Regions from separate parts of the Homo sapiens genome. Here region 2 is linked to region 1. The links are contacts of gene promoters, found by promoter capture Hi-C in blood cells and fetal thymus (Javierre and others, 2016). All regions are on one chromosome and are shown on one strand. Each heading gives the region's core, a stretch centred on a gene start or on the middle of the fragment in contact. The rest is flanking DNA. Distances are from core to core; before and after follow the strand shown. Region 1 holds the start of SH3GLB1 (SH3 domain containing GRB2 like, endophilin B1). Region 2 holds the start of CTBS (chitobiase).

What was found. Contacts are between HindIII fragments. The CHiCAGO score rates a contact against its expected background, and 5 or more counts as called.
Region 2: a contact is called between the fragment with the promoter of CTBS here and the fragment with the promoter of SH3GLB1 in region 1, in 1 of 17 cell types (activated CD4 T cells). The highest score is 5.2, in activated CD4 T cells.

What each region holds. Positions count from the first base shown.
Region 1 is chr1:86,703,326-86,710,551 of GRCh38, reverse strand. SH3GLB1 (SH3 domain containing GRB2 like, endophilin B1) reads right to left here and starts at 5,976. Exons shown (of 9, transcript NM_016009.5): 1 at 5,581-5,976. The coding sequence starts at 5,652. It overlaps CLCA4-AS1 (CLCA4 antisense RNA 1), which reads left to right and starts at 6,059. Exons shown (of 5, transcript NR_135837.1): 1 at 6,059-6,945. RefSeq lists a silencer at 5,323-5,812 and enhancers at 5,637-6,138, 6,703-6,772. The HindIII fragment of the contact is 3,313 bases long and covers 3,478-6,790 here.
Region 2 is chr1:84,570,591-84,577,816 of GRCh38, reverse strand. CTBS (chitobiase) reads left to right here and starts at 3,377. Exons shown (of 7, transcript NM_004388.3): 1 at 3,377-3,578; 2 at 7,097-7,226. The coding sequence starts at 3,402. RefSeq lists a silencer at 3,245-3,364 and enhancers at 3,525-3,814, 3,925-4,024, 4,738-4,787. The HindIII fragment of the contact is 3,172 bases long and covers 1,491-4,662 here.

The DNA of each region.
Region 1 (7,226 bases), core at 4,727-7,226:
GGCTCATGCCTGTAATCCCAGCACTTTGGGAGGCTGAGGCGGGTGGATCACCTGAGATCAGGAGTTCGAGACTAGCCTGGCCAACATGGTGAAACCCCGTCTCTACTAAAAATACAAAATTTAGCCGGGCACGGTGGCGCGTGTCTGTAATCCCAGCTACTAGAGGGGCTGAGGAAGGAGGATAGCTTGAACCTGGGAAACGGAGATTGCGGTGAGCCAAGATCGTGCCACTGCACTCCAGCCTGGGCAACAGGGCGAGACTCCGTCTCAAAAAAAAAAAAAAAATTCTTTCAAGAAATATGATGAATTTAAAAGAGTTTTATAGATTTTCTAATTACCTTACTCATGTAGTACATAAGTGTAAATTTTAACATCAGGTTAACAAACTATCTTCTATCTATTTTACTAAAGTAATGCAAATAGCACCAAAGGATGTGAAAACAGTTTTAAGTAACACTAAACATGTAGAGTTTTTATATAACAAGAAAATGTATGGATTTCGAATGTGACATATTTTATTTATTAGAATTTAAGAAACATGGTGAAGTTGTCACGGTGTGAATTCTGTAAAAGAAATAGGATTTCAGAAGTGCTTGAGAGAGTTGTTTGGCCAAACTGAAACTCCAGGGAGGGTCTGACAGGAGCTATTGAACGGCAACATCATATTCATCTTTACATCCTTAGACACACCATGACACTTGCTGAAATAAATGGGAGATCAAGGCCAAGCTCAAAACTATATTTTAAGAACTATATTCCTTAGAAAATAGCTGGTGTTCACGAATTTCATAGTATGACTTTAATAATCAGTTTAGAGGAAATGTTAGAAAATTAAAATGAACTCCCTCCCTAAGTAATTTGATTTGAAAAATTCTTTTTAGAAAGTCTTTGCTCTTATTTTAATGATGGTGAGCAAGGTTTTGCTTCAATAAGAATTCTGAGTTAAAAACACATCTCTTGTTCCTTTATCCACTTGAAAGATTTATCAAATAAAGTTATTCACAAAATGGCTATTTAGTACAAATAAGATTTATGACAAGTTTGAGACTATTATTATGAAGTCTCTGAGGGCAGGAACAGGGTCTCATTCAGCTTTGTATCTTTCAACGCCAAGCACCTAGGAGGTACTCAATTTATACTGGTATTAGTTAACTTCAAGGTCCGCAAACAATGTTAGAAAATACTAATAAAGATACTGTTATTTAACATGCTTATTGTTGCCCTTCAAAGATTAAACTTCACATATGGATGGTAATTTGCCTGGCTAAAATGATATAAAAGATGAACCATGTTAGATGTTGTAAGAGGGGAATAAGAAACAGAGTTGATGCCTTAGCACATACAAACTTATTAAAGAAAGTCAGAGTAACAGAACTTTAGAGTTCCAAGAGATCTAACATAACAGTTCATTAGAAGAAAAGTGCCACCTCATCATTTGGAATTGAAAATGATTCACGATTTCACAGCAAGCTCTTGTGGTCTAAGAAGCCTTATCAGCTGAGATGGATTTGAAGCTATATCTTTAAAAAAAGTTTATTTTACTTTTATTTTAAAATTTTTTTTACTCTCTCCATTTTGGAGATGAATAAAGTTGTATCTTAAGGAAAGGAAAGAATAGGCAGACAGGACACTTAAGAGGAGTCTAACCATATGAACAAAAGCCTAAAATAAGTAGAAGATATTTTGGAAATTAAAAAATAATTTGGAATACAGTGTTTATATAAGTGAGAGAAAGGACCAGATTGTAAGGGAGTATTTAATGCTCAACTAAGAAGTTTGGACTAAAAAGATGGATTCTAAGAATAAATGGCATTTAAAACTCTAGTAAAATAACAATTAAGCAAGGGTGAATTACCTGATACTTTTGTATTTTACCATCTTGAGGTACTTAAAAACAAGCACCCAAATGGGCTAGTTAAGAATAAACATTCCTACTCATTTATACATTCTAGTCTAACATTCTTTTTAAAGTACCAAGGCTTATAAACAAATTTTAAAAGGAGGGAAGTGGAGTGGTGATGGGACGCATCTATGTGCTTTACTAGTTTGAGCTGACCTTTTTTTAAAACAAGAAACATGTTTAATTTTTAACTTAGAAATTTTTAAGTAAAATGGAAAACAATGTATGGCGTTGGCCAACCAAAGAATGGCATATTCCTTACGGTACAATTTGATTTGAATGAAAATTATTATTTATAAACGTGAATGTTTCTCTCTCTACTGTTCTTACTGCTTATAAAGAGATATTGGCATAGCTCTTAAGCTATTCTTAGCATGAAACTTGGTACTTTGGCATTATACTGATGTCAATGCAATTTAATGTAGGAACTCAGTGATGAAATAAATACTGAGATGAGAAAGCAGTGTTTTGTTGAAAACTACCACACAGCATTCCAAATTTCACATGTTCTATTTTAGAAGCATCCTTTTTTTCTTACAAATTTTATCTTTAAAAAAGTATTATGGAAAATGTCAAACATACAAAAGTATAACAGTATAATGAAACCTCATGAACCCATAACCAACCTTCCACAACTATCAACATTCCGTTGCTGTTGTTTCAGCGACTTCTGTTTTTTTCTTTTGAAATATTCAAACGCTAATCTCAACTGGTGTGGTGGCTCACACCTGTAATCCCAGCACTTTGGGAGGCCGAAGCAGGTGGATCCTGAGGTCAGGAGTTCAAGACCAGCCTGACCAACATGGTGAAACCCCATCTCTACTAAAAATGCAAAATTAGCTGGGCGTGGTGGAGCCTGCCTGTAATTCCAGTTACTTGAAAGACGGAGGCAGGAGATTGGCTTGAATCGGGGAGGCGAAGGTTGCAATGAGCTGAGATCGCGCCATTGCACTCCAGCCTGGGCAACAAGAGCCAAACTCCATCTCAAAAAAAAAAAAAAAAAAAAATACCCTGTAAAAACCAAATCTCAGATATGATATAAGTTTATCCATAAACATTTCAGTATGTATCTCTAACAATTACAGACACATTAAAGAAGTCTGTTTCTCCTAAAATTTTTCCCTTAATAAACGGCTCAAGCCAAAACCTTGGAGTCATCCTTAACTCATCTTTCTCTCATACCTCACAGCCAATCCAACAGCCAATACTGGATAATTTGGAACCTTCACTGCTACCACTGTAATCTAAGTTACAATCGCCTTTTACGTGTATTATGGCCACAGCTCCTTCATTGGTCTCCTTAATGCCCCTGAAACTTCAGTCTTTGTACTTCTTCCTGCTGCCTGAAATACTTTTATTCCAAAAAAAACTAGGTCTGTCACTTCCTTGAGGTCTCTTGAATTTCATCCTATTAGAAAGACTTGCCCTGACCATCCTATCTATACACGATACTAATGTTAGAAAATACTAATAAAGATATTAACAACCACCATCTCTGCGTTATTCTATTCTTCTGGCCATGATTTTTATCACCACCTGATGTATTTACAAGCTTATCTTCCGCTACAATGTAAGCTTCAGGAGGGCAGACACTTTGCTGATTTTATTCACTGCTGTATCACCAGTGTCCACAGTAGCCACAAGCAGACATCAGACATGCAGTAGACACTTAAATATTTAAAACTGAAAAGAAAATTATTTGATGGCTAACAGATTAGCATAAAATTTAAAACTTTTTCCTAAAGAATTTGAAACAAGGAATTAAAATTCTTTGGGAAGTACACATTTTGAGAGCTTTGCTAGATTTAATTTTTTAAATTGAGTCTATCCACAATTTAAATCAGACTAAATTCTAGTAAATGTGTCCTCTTTAAGGGGTGTGAGTTATACGTCTGAAACATATTTAACTGTATTTAAAAGAGTAGCATTATACAGTGTCAAATCCTCATAAGCATCTAGAATTATAGGTAATGAGCACTAGGACAAACAAAAATACCAAGGGCTCTAGTCCTCTATTGCAGTCAATGTTAAAAGTGTACAAGTGTCTCACACATCAAAATTCATTTCACACCCTCAATCACTCATTCTTCTTGCACCTTGTCTTTGAACTATTAGAAGCTAGTGAATTTAAATCAAAACATTATTTTAACTATAAAGGCTCAACGTCTACAATATATCATATTTTAGGGAAGGAAGGGAAGAAAAGGGTTAAGGCAGCTAGCTTATTACTCACCATGCAGATTTTAGAACTTAGAAATCAAAAGCTAGAAGGAATTTACCATCTCTAAAGTGTTACTTGCTTGTTGATATGGAAATGCTCAGATTGAACCAGATGATTTTTAAGGTCTCTCTAGGCCACAGCATTCTATTATTCTAGCTATCTTAAATCTGGAATGCTTATCCCGGAAGAAAAAGCAGCTGGGAGTACTAGGTCAGACAGCACCTGGTTATTTACTAGTTGTGCAAGTTTCTTAACCTCAGTAAGGCTGCTTCCTCACATATATAAAAGGGGTTAATAACATCTATCTGGCAAAGTTATGGAAAAGACTGGAGATAATATGTCAAATGCATTACAAAGTGCTTGACAGGTTTTTCATAATATAGGCAGCTATTACCTTGCTCTAGCTCTACTACTCTTTTGCCAGGGATAGTGCAATGTAGGATCAACTGTGCCAACAAAATTGGGGCAAAGGCAAGGAAAGTAGTAAAGCCACAGAACAGATTTACATTTCAGCACCAATTTGGTATGCATATTAGAAAATTATTTTTGTTTTCTTTTTACAAAAGAGAATGTTGTTGCTACCGTGACCGTAAACACCAGATTGTTTATAATTCATGTTGTGAAATTTACATCTGTTCACAGATTTACTGAGTTGGCATAACATGGGTGATGACTGTGGGAAACGGCCCAAGTTCCTTAGTACTGACACTTCCTTGATTGTAGAATATCGAGAGGTAGTCAACTTTTCCCCTTAAAGTATATTTAAAACATACTACTGTGACTACAGCCATAACAATATCCCCGCATCTCTCCTTGATCTACAGCTGGTGCTTCCCATTTTGAAAAAGAGTGAAAACCCCCCAACCCTAGGTTTCTTGTGGTCTTGGCAAAGTCTCAACGCCAACTGGCGATCTCCATTTCCCCCGCGGGCTGCCAAGCCCAGGACAGTCCTTTCAGGGAGAAAGAGGGCCGGAGGGAACTGTGTTGGCAGCTCTCTGGGTTGAAGGACAGGAAAAGGAAACTCCCTTCTTGGACTCCGAGGGGAGGGTGAGAGACGAAAGGAAAGGGTGGGGGGTAGTGCAAGAATGGCCTGTGTCTCGGTTACCGCAAAGGACTCGCAAGCCTCCGCCAGCCCCGGGGTGGAGGCCACAGGAGCACTGACGTCGTGGTATCAGAAAGGCGGACAGTGCAGCCTTAGTGTTCCCCAGGGGTGGGAGGAAGCTCCCGGCCCCGTCCCCACCCCGCCTCGCTTCCCAGGGAGCGGCGGTTGGGCAGGAGCGGGGCAGAAATCCGCCGCCGGGCCCGGGGAGGGGACCAGGCCGCGCCCATCTCCCAGGCCTCTGGCTGCAGCAGGCCCGCTGGGTGGTCGGCGAGGCCCGGGGGCGCCGCGTCGAGCTGCGGTCCCCTCCCTCAACCTTCCCGGGCGCCGCCACCCCTTTTCCCCCCAGCACCAGGGTACCTGCACGGCGCGACTGAGGAAGGTGCCTGCGTCGGCCGCCAGCTTCTTCACGTTGAAGTCCATGATATTCATCCTAGGCGGCAGCCGGGCGGAGCCGGCCGACCTAGCGGCGGCGAGGCGGAGGTGCCGCGGCCGGGCTGGGGCGCAGGGCTAGAGCGGCGAGGGCAGACGTGGTAGGTGGAGGGAGGCGGCGCCAGCCCCGCAGCCGCAGCTGTCGTTTCCGTGAACGGGGAGGATGAAGGCGGGGCGAGGGAGGAGAACAAGCGCGCGGCGGCAGCGCCAAGGATGGGTCAGTCGGCTCGGAGAACGGCCGCTAACGTCGACGATGGGCCCCGCGGGCGAGCCGGAGATGGACGGGCGACCCCGCCGTGTGGACCCGGGTCCCAAGGGAAAAACAAGCGCGGGCCGCGGGGCGGAGCCTTTCTCGAGGTTATCGCGGGAACAGCGACCCCTTGAGGATTGCGGCGGCGCAGCCCCGGGGCGCGCCGGGAGCTCCGCCCGGCTCCTGTGGAGGAAGCGGCGAGGGCGAGCCGCGGGGTCTCGGCGCCTCTGTATGCTTGCACTTAACGAGAACCCAGAGCGAACACGACCCACATTTCTCTTTTTGTTTTAAGAGGAAATATAGGAGTTACAGCATAGAATTACAATATCTGGACATTAGAAATAACAGGTCCCGGTCACGGTATGGCACCGCGCGACACACTTGGTCCCTGAGGCCTGGATGCCGCTCAGCAAACGTTCGCGGAATAGGGTTGGGTTTACTGTCCCCCACCGAGCCGGTTGCTCATTCATTCAGCATAATTGAATACCTCCTGTGTGCCAGGCACTGAATCAAGTGTCGGAGACAATGTCCTGCCCTCAAGCTCCTGGCCGGTTACTTGACAACCTTCCGGGACCTCAACGCTATGTGCCTACTGTGTGAAAGCAAAGTGCCAGGTGGAGGACACAAAGATGGCGAGCGACACAGGATAGTCCTTAACAATTAAGCGTGACTAATTTTAATAACAAATGAGAATATGATGTGACATCCGTTCCAAATCCTGTCGTTCCAAGTAACTTCTTAAGCATCTTTCACGATACAGCCTCTGCTTGAAAGGAATTAAAACAGGTACAAGCATGGAAGGAGACGTTGCTATCATATTTCAAGAATAAGAAAATGCTGTTTTGTGTGGTTGTGCAGCAGGCAATGAAATGAGCTTACATTCAAGCTTCCGTGTTTTACTGAAACAACAGTCACAGATGCAGTAGATGTTAAAGGTTGAAAGACGAGTGCAGTAAAAGCATTATGAGGACAAGAAGAAAACGTAAATATTTGTGTTGTTTCATTCTTTGTTGTGGTGGCAGAAACAGCCCCCTCTTTCTAAGGTAACTCCAATATAATGATCTCTCCCAGCTTTGAAATACTCCATGTCTGTTTCATTTTCCAGAAATATGGAAAAATGAATATATAATAAAAAACCCTATTTCTCATTTATTGTCTATTTTAGATCTTTATGTGGAAAAGCACTTACTCTCTTCCCAGAGCACTGTTTTTAAAGTAGGTATATTTGCCATAACCTATGCTCGTCTCTACAAAAGGATCACACCACCGTGTCCACCATTAAAGGGGAAATTCTTTAATGGTGGACACAGTGGTGTCCCTGAAT
Region 2 (7,226 bases), core at 2,128-4,627, 2.1 Mb after region 1:
AGGTGAATAGATACATCAGTGGTTTTCTGGACAAATCATACACCCAGATCACCCTACAGTGAAATTCAAAGTTAAAAGCACCAGCTATCTACTTGGAGCTTCCTCTCTTTGTACTTTTTAATTTTTACTTTTAATCATGGACAGCAACCAAGAAAATCCAATAATGTAGAAGGAAGGGACCCAAACAACAGACAAAGGAATATGGAGGAAGCAGATGCTGCAGGATTGGATTAACTGTAGTACGTCCCAACAATGAAGTATTATTCAGTGCTAAAAAGAAATGAGCAATCAAGCCATGAAGGGACATGGAGGAACCATAAATGCGTATTACTAAGTGAAGGAAGCCAATCTGAAAAGCTATATACTGTAAGATTCCAACTATGTGACATTCTGGAAAAGGCAAAACTATGGAGACAGTGTAAAAATCTGTGGATGCCAGTGGTTAGCAAGGAGAGAGGAATGAATAGGTAGAGCACAGATAATTTTGAGGGCAGTGAAACTATTCTGTATGATACTATAATGCTGGATACACATCATTATACATTTGTCAAAGCCCATAGAATGTACAGCACCAATATAAAATTCAATACAAATATGTAGGAATTCCTCATTTGGTTAGTATGCAGAAAAGAGTTACCGTAACAGGCCTAAGACTGCGATCTTTAGAAAGGCCTGCTTCCTGAAGGTTGGCCTGTAGGTGGATTTGGGAGTGTTCCTGCTGTTCCCTGAGTCTCTAATGAGCTTCCATGGCAGACAGCCCTTCACACATGTTACAACGTGATGCTTGTGCTTGGCCTCCTCCTGTCTTCTTCCTGTGCACTTTTTCCCTTTGCTCTTTTGCTTCATATTCTTCTGCTGTAATAAATCTTAACTGTGAGTACAACTGAGTCCTATGAGTTCTTTTAGTGCATCACTGAACCTGGAGGTGATCTTAGGGATCCCTAACACAGGTAGATATGTGTTTTCTTCTGTGTCACAGAATACAGTCTGATTCTATGAGTCAGAAGGCTCTTTTCCTTGAAAACTTGATTCAGTGCAACCATTCATGTTAAAAACATAGTTACATTTCAGTATCATGAGGGATTGGTTCCAGGACTCCCAGATACCAAAATCCATGGATGCTCAAGTCCCTTATATAAAATGGCATAATCTATGCACATCCTCCTGTACTTCAAATAATCTCTAGATTAATTATAATAATACGATGTAATGCTATGTTGACAGTGCTCTTGCCGTATTTTTATTTGCATTTTTAAATTGCTGTATTATTTGTTATTTTTAAATACTGTTATCTGACATTGGTTAAAACCATGGATGTGGAACCTCTGGTTATGGAGGTTCAATTGTACTTTTTTTTTTTTTGAGACAGGATCTTGTTTTGTCACCCAGGCTGGAGTGCAGTGGCATGATCATAGTTCACTTCAGCCTCAACCTCCCGGCTTCAAGCAATCCTCTCATCTCAGCCTCCCGAGCAGCTGGGACTACAAGCTTTTACCACCGCACTGGCACACAGGGCTAATTTTTTGCTTTTTATTTTTTGTAGAGACAGGGTCTATGTTCCCCAGGCTGGTCTCAAACTCCTGCCCTCAAGTAATCCTCCTGCCTTGGCCTGCCAAAGTTATGCAATTGCAGGTGTGAGCCACAGTGCCTGGCCTAGCTTTTCATTCTGAAAACGCGTGTTCTTCAGTCCTGGAGCCTTGATAATTACTTATTTCTTTTCTTTTCTTTTTTTTTTTTTTTTTTGGAGACAGAGTCTCACTCTGTTGCTGAGGCTGGAGTGCAGTGGTGTGATCTCTGCAACCTCCACCTCCCAGGTTCAAGCGATTCTCCTGCCTCAGCCTTCCGAGTAGCTGGGATTACAGGTGTCTGCCACCATGCCCAGATAATTTTTGTATTTTTAGTAGAGATGGGGTTTCACAATGTTGGCCAGGCTGGTCTCAAACTCCTGAGCTCAAGTGATCTGCCCACCTCGGCCTCCCACAGTGCCGGGATTACAAGCATGAACCACTGTGCCCAGCCCAAATTACTTATTTCTTCTTATTTGTACTACGCTGCTTCTCAAGCACCTTTAAGAATTATTTATTTCATCCCCTCTGTACTGCGTTTTCCAATTTTCTTATCTTTCAGAGTTTTTGCTCTACATTCCTCAGTGTTATCTTCTACTAATAGTTTTTTCACTTCTTTCTTATTTCTATTAACTTTTAAAAATCCCCTACCCCTTTTATTGCACCCTGTTGTGGCTTCATCTTCTCTTATTTTTCTGGGGCTATTATGAGAATTTTTAAAAGTGTTCTCCCTGCAGCATCTGCTTCCTCCATATTCCTTTGTCTGTTGTTTGGGTCCCTTCTTTCTACATTATTGGATTTTTTTGGTTGCTGTCCATGATTAAAAGTAAAAATTAAAAAGTACAAAGAGAGGAAGCTCCAAGTAGATAGCTGGTGCTTTTAACTTTGAATTTCACTGTAGGGTGATCTGGGTGTATGATTTGTCCAGAAAACCCGATGTCAGTATCTTTGCTCAGCCTCTTAGGTTAATCAGATAGCGAGGGGTTTCAGTTTTCAGTAGGCATAAAGCCACTTATTCTCCGTTTTAGGTGGAATACCCACTCAGCAGAGAATTTATCCCCTTCAGGGAATTCAGCCGGGGTGGGAGCCCGTGGTGGGAAAGAGGGGCAGCTGCCCAGAGACATGAAGCTGGAAAAAGGATCTAGCGATCAGAGTCCTTGAGCAGCCTTTGACTAATCTCCCCCTTTTCCGATTTACCTCTCATACTCATACTTGTGCTCTCCAGCTTCCAACATTTTGTTGCTGTTATCTCTTTGTCCTTGTGTTTAGGTTGTTAAACTTGATTTTTAACAGGAGAGTAGGCAAAATTAGATGCTTGAATTCAAACCACGATCTTAACTAAGACCTGATATCCGTAAGTAAAAATTTTTGGTATTCCAGCTTTCTTTTGAGTAGCAAAAGAAAAACAAAGTCTTTTGGCCACTCCAACCATGTTACTCAGTAGGCCCTTCCAAAGACACCCACTTCTCCATTTTGGGGATCCCCTTGTACCTTCAGACTCCACAAGGAGTACACGACCAGCCACGACAAAACGAGATGCAGACTATTGGGAGGACTATAAACGGTAGGGGTGATACCCATTTGAGTCCACGAACGGCCCTCTCGGCGCCGCAGACACTGGCTGTCCCCCGAGACGCTCCAGCAGCCACTTAACTTCACCCACCTGTAGCGCCCGGGGACGCTCGAAGCCCGACCTCCCACGCCCGCCCCGGAGCCCCGCCCCTCCCGCCCCTCCCCGCCCTTCCCGACTCTCCCCGCCCCTTCCTGCCCCGACGCGCAGCAGGCCCCGCCCACCCAGGCGGTAGGAACCCACTCCGGCCCGCTAGACCTGCTGCTATGTCCCGGCCGCAGCTTCGACGCTGGCGCCTCGTCTCTAGCCCGCCGAGCGGCGTCCCGGGTCTAGCGCTGCTGGCGCTGCTGGCGCTGCTGGCGCTGCGGCTCGCGGCCGGGACCGACTGCCCATGCCCGGAGCCTGAGCTCTGCCGCCCGATTCGCCACCATCCAGATTTCGAGGTCAGCGCCTTCCTCTGCTCCTCTAGGTCTGGGCTTCAGGGCACGAAGAGAAGTTAGGGTAGAACGGAGCCCTAAGGAGAGGTGCCGTGGGCGCCGAAACCAGCTTTGACCACTCGATGAGGGCCTTCCTGTTTACGGATCCTTCAATTTATAGATGAGGAAGCTCGGGCTCAGAGAAGTTGAGTAACTCCTCAGGCCTCACAGCCTGTAAGTGCCTGCGTAGGCAGGCGAGAGTTCAAACCAGATCTGCCTCCTAAGGCAAGCTCCTTTCATTCCCCTGCTGTGCCTCTGCGGAAGCACTCTGGGTGTAAAAAGCAAACAAGGTAGGATAATCCATTTATGTTTCCAAGGAACGAGGATTTCGTTTGAAAGAATCTCAGCACTCCAACAGTACATTAGAATGCAGAGTATTTTGCTTACCTTTAGTTTTCTATACCTGCTAGCCCTTTCCTTTAAAGTACCTCAAAACCACCCATGAAGAGTGGTAAAAAAAATAGCTTTCAGTACATTTTCCTTCTATCTACATAACAATTTGTAAGGCTTCTGGCAACTTTAATCAAACACCTTCTGGAGCAATATTAAAACCACCTGACTGCCCACTTCGATGACTGAAAGCAGGAATTGGATGACATCAGGAAGGTCCAAAGGCTTAATTCAAAGAACGATTCTTTTGTAGAAATAGGCATGATTCCTAGTTCTTAATCTAGTACATTAATCTGAGGCAGAACACTTAGATGCCAGTAAAAAAGTATATATACATGACTTAGGAGAAGAAATAAAAATGGTGAAAGTGTTTATGGAGAACCTGCCTAGTGTGGAAACCTAACATCTTATTAAAAGAAAGACTTCAGACAAAGTAGGATAACCTTTTTTATTTGAGCAAAGAACAACTTATGAATCGGCAGTACTTAAACCAGAAGGGGTTCAGAGAGGTCTGCTTTAGTAGCATGGGCTTTTATAGGCCGAACAGGGAAGCAAAGGAAAATAATTACTTGGTTGGCTATGACTGTTTGCCTTATTTAGCTATGACTTGGTGGAAAATTACTAGTTAGAGGTTAGTTGGCAGTTTCTGATAGGTTAAGCTTAAGTTTCCTTTCACTGTTGACCTTGGGCTGGAGTTTGCTTAAGCAGGAAATCCAAGGCAGTTGGAGCTGTTTCAGCATAATGGCCTCCCAATTAAAATGTTTTATACAATCTGAGGCCCAGCGCGGTGGTAGAGGCAGTGGGGACAGTAGCTGTAAAAGTTCAACCAGACATTTCTTAATTTTCTCAATCTCTTTTTGAGATTGAGAAGCACTTTGTGAGGCCAAGGTGGGTGGATCACTTGAGGTCAGGAATTCGAGAACAGCCTGGCCAACATGGTGAAACCCCGTCTCTACTAAAAATACAAAAATTAGCTGGGCGTGGTGGCGGGCACATGTAATCCGAACTACTTGGGAGGCTGAGGCAGGAGAACCGCTTGAACCTGGGAGGCGGAGCGGGAGGCGGAAGGTTGCAGTTAGCCAAGATCACGCCACTGCACTCCAGCCTGGGCGACAGAGCAAGACTATGTCTCAAAAAAGAGAAAAAAAAAAAACCTGAAAGATTTACTGTAGTACCCAATACTTAGTGGGTTAGGCAATATCTGTGGGCACTTTGAAAACCAACTATTCAAAGAAGCAAAATTATGCTTATTTGTATCTTCATGGTAAATGGTCTTTTTCTCTACTGGCGTTTTCTATGTTTTTCAAACACAAAAACTAGACTACATGGCATTTTCCCCTTATATTTTCAATTAGTTCACCCAGCTTTTTTTTTTTTTAAGGATATCTGTTATATCACAGGCTCTTAGTATTTTTTAAACAAATAGAATCTTAATTATCAGAACTAAAATAGAAGTTTTGATAGAAATATGAGTCAGAAAACAATGGGCCACTTAATTTCACATTATGAATTTTTATTATTTCAGTAGGCAATTGCTTAGCAGAAAAAATGAGTTATGCATAATTAATTCTGAAAAGTTAAAAAAAATTAAAAAAAATTAAGAAATGCCTGGTTTAACTTTTACAGCTGCTATCCCCACTGTCTCTCCCTCATTCATTCCCCTCACAAGGACCCAGTGATCTCTTTTGTAATGCATATCCCCTGAATTAAAACTCTAATTGATTCCCACTGATCCCAAGATAAAATACAACATCTTCAGTGGTCTTGGAAGTCCTACTTAATCTTTCCACTACCGACTTTAAAGGTTTTATCCAGTTCCACATACTTGCAGGATTTCTGTGCTCTACCTACATTGACCTTTTTCAGTTCCAGAATCTCAGAATTCTCCTGAGGTGTAGCGACCTTTGGGCTTTCCCTTCCCTCAGTTGAGAATGCAATCTTTTGTCCATAGGTATATCTCTTCCATCATTCTGCTGATTTCAGCCCACTCCGAAAGTGTGTAGTCCTCAGAAAAGTTTTCGTGCACCATCTGGCTAGCAGGTCCCCTTTATATGCTGGCGTGGCCCCCTGTAACCCCTACAGTCCTTAATACCATTGTAATTAAGTAGTTAACTCCTTACTGGACCTGGTCTCTCTCATTAATCTTTATCTCCTTAGAGCCTAGCAAAATACTCTCCTTGTACCTTATTGGAAATTCAATAAATATTTGCCAAATCAATGAATTAATGCCTTGGAATAAAATAAAAATAATCAGTGAGGCTTCTGTGCTTCTTGAATTAACTGTGGGAAGAAAATATCAGAGAAACACAACATCAGGTGCCTTAGAATTTGACCTAGGTACTATTCTAAGAAGCTAGCTTCACCAAACAAACAAAAAACAGTAAATGTATTTATGGCTCCATCTGCAGTAGCCAGAAACTTGAGTATTATCAGACTTCTCTCCTTTGATTACTCATTCGATTAGTCACAAAGTCCTGTCAATTTTGCCTCCTTAGGATCTTCCAGATCTGTTCACTTAACGCCACTGCTCCACAATTTTAGTTGAGGTCACCATCATCTCTTACTTGGATTCCTCCAACAGTTTCTGTATTCTGCCTCCAGTTTTGGTGTCTCTTTAATCCTTTTCCCACTGCAGCTGAAAATATTTTTCTAAAATGCATACCTTCCCCTTTTAAAAATGCTTTTATTCTCTCCCTTTACCTCAGGATAAACAAGGTAGTACTAACTTCTCAACAGAGCTTATGAGGCCTTTCATGATTTAATCCATGCCTACTACTCTCTGGTCCTTCACTAATGCTCTCTCCCCAAATTCTAGACGTCGGCCATACTAAATATTTAGTTACGCAACCACCATGTTGTCTCTGCCTCCAGGCCTTGGCACTTGCCACTCTTCCTTCCTGGCCCATCCTTCCCCTCTTTCCCAGCCTGGCTAATTACCCCTGCCACCAATTATCTTGGGACCCCTATGTCTTATGCACTTGTACTCTCACTGCCACCATAGTGTTTGGTGTATGGTGATGTTTGATGAACGGTATTTTGGACGGTCAGCATAATATTCTTGGTTTAAATGATGGTGCTCATCTTTGTTCTGGCAGGTCTTTGTGTTTGATGTTGGACAGAAAACTTGGAAATCTTATGATTGGTCACAGATTACAACTGTGGCAACATTTGGAAAATATGACTCAGAACTTATGTGCTACGCTCATTCAAAAGGAGCCAGAGTAG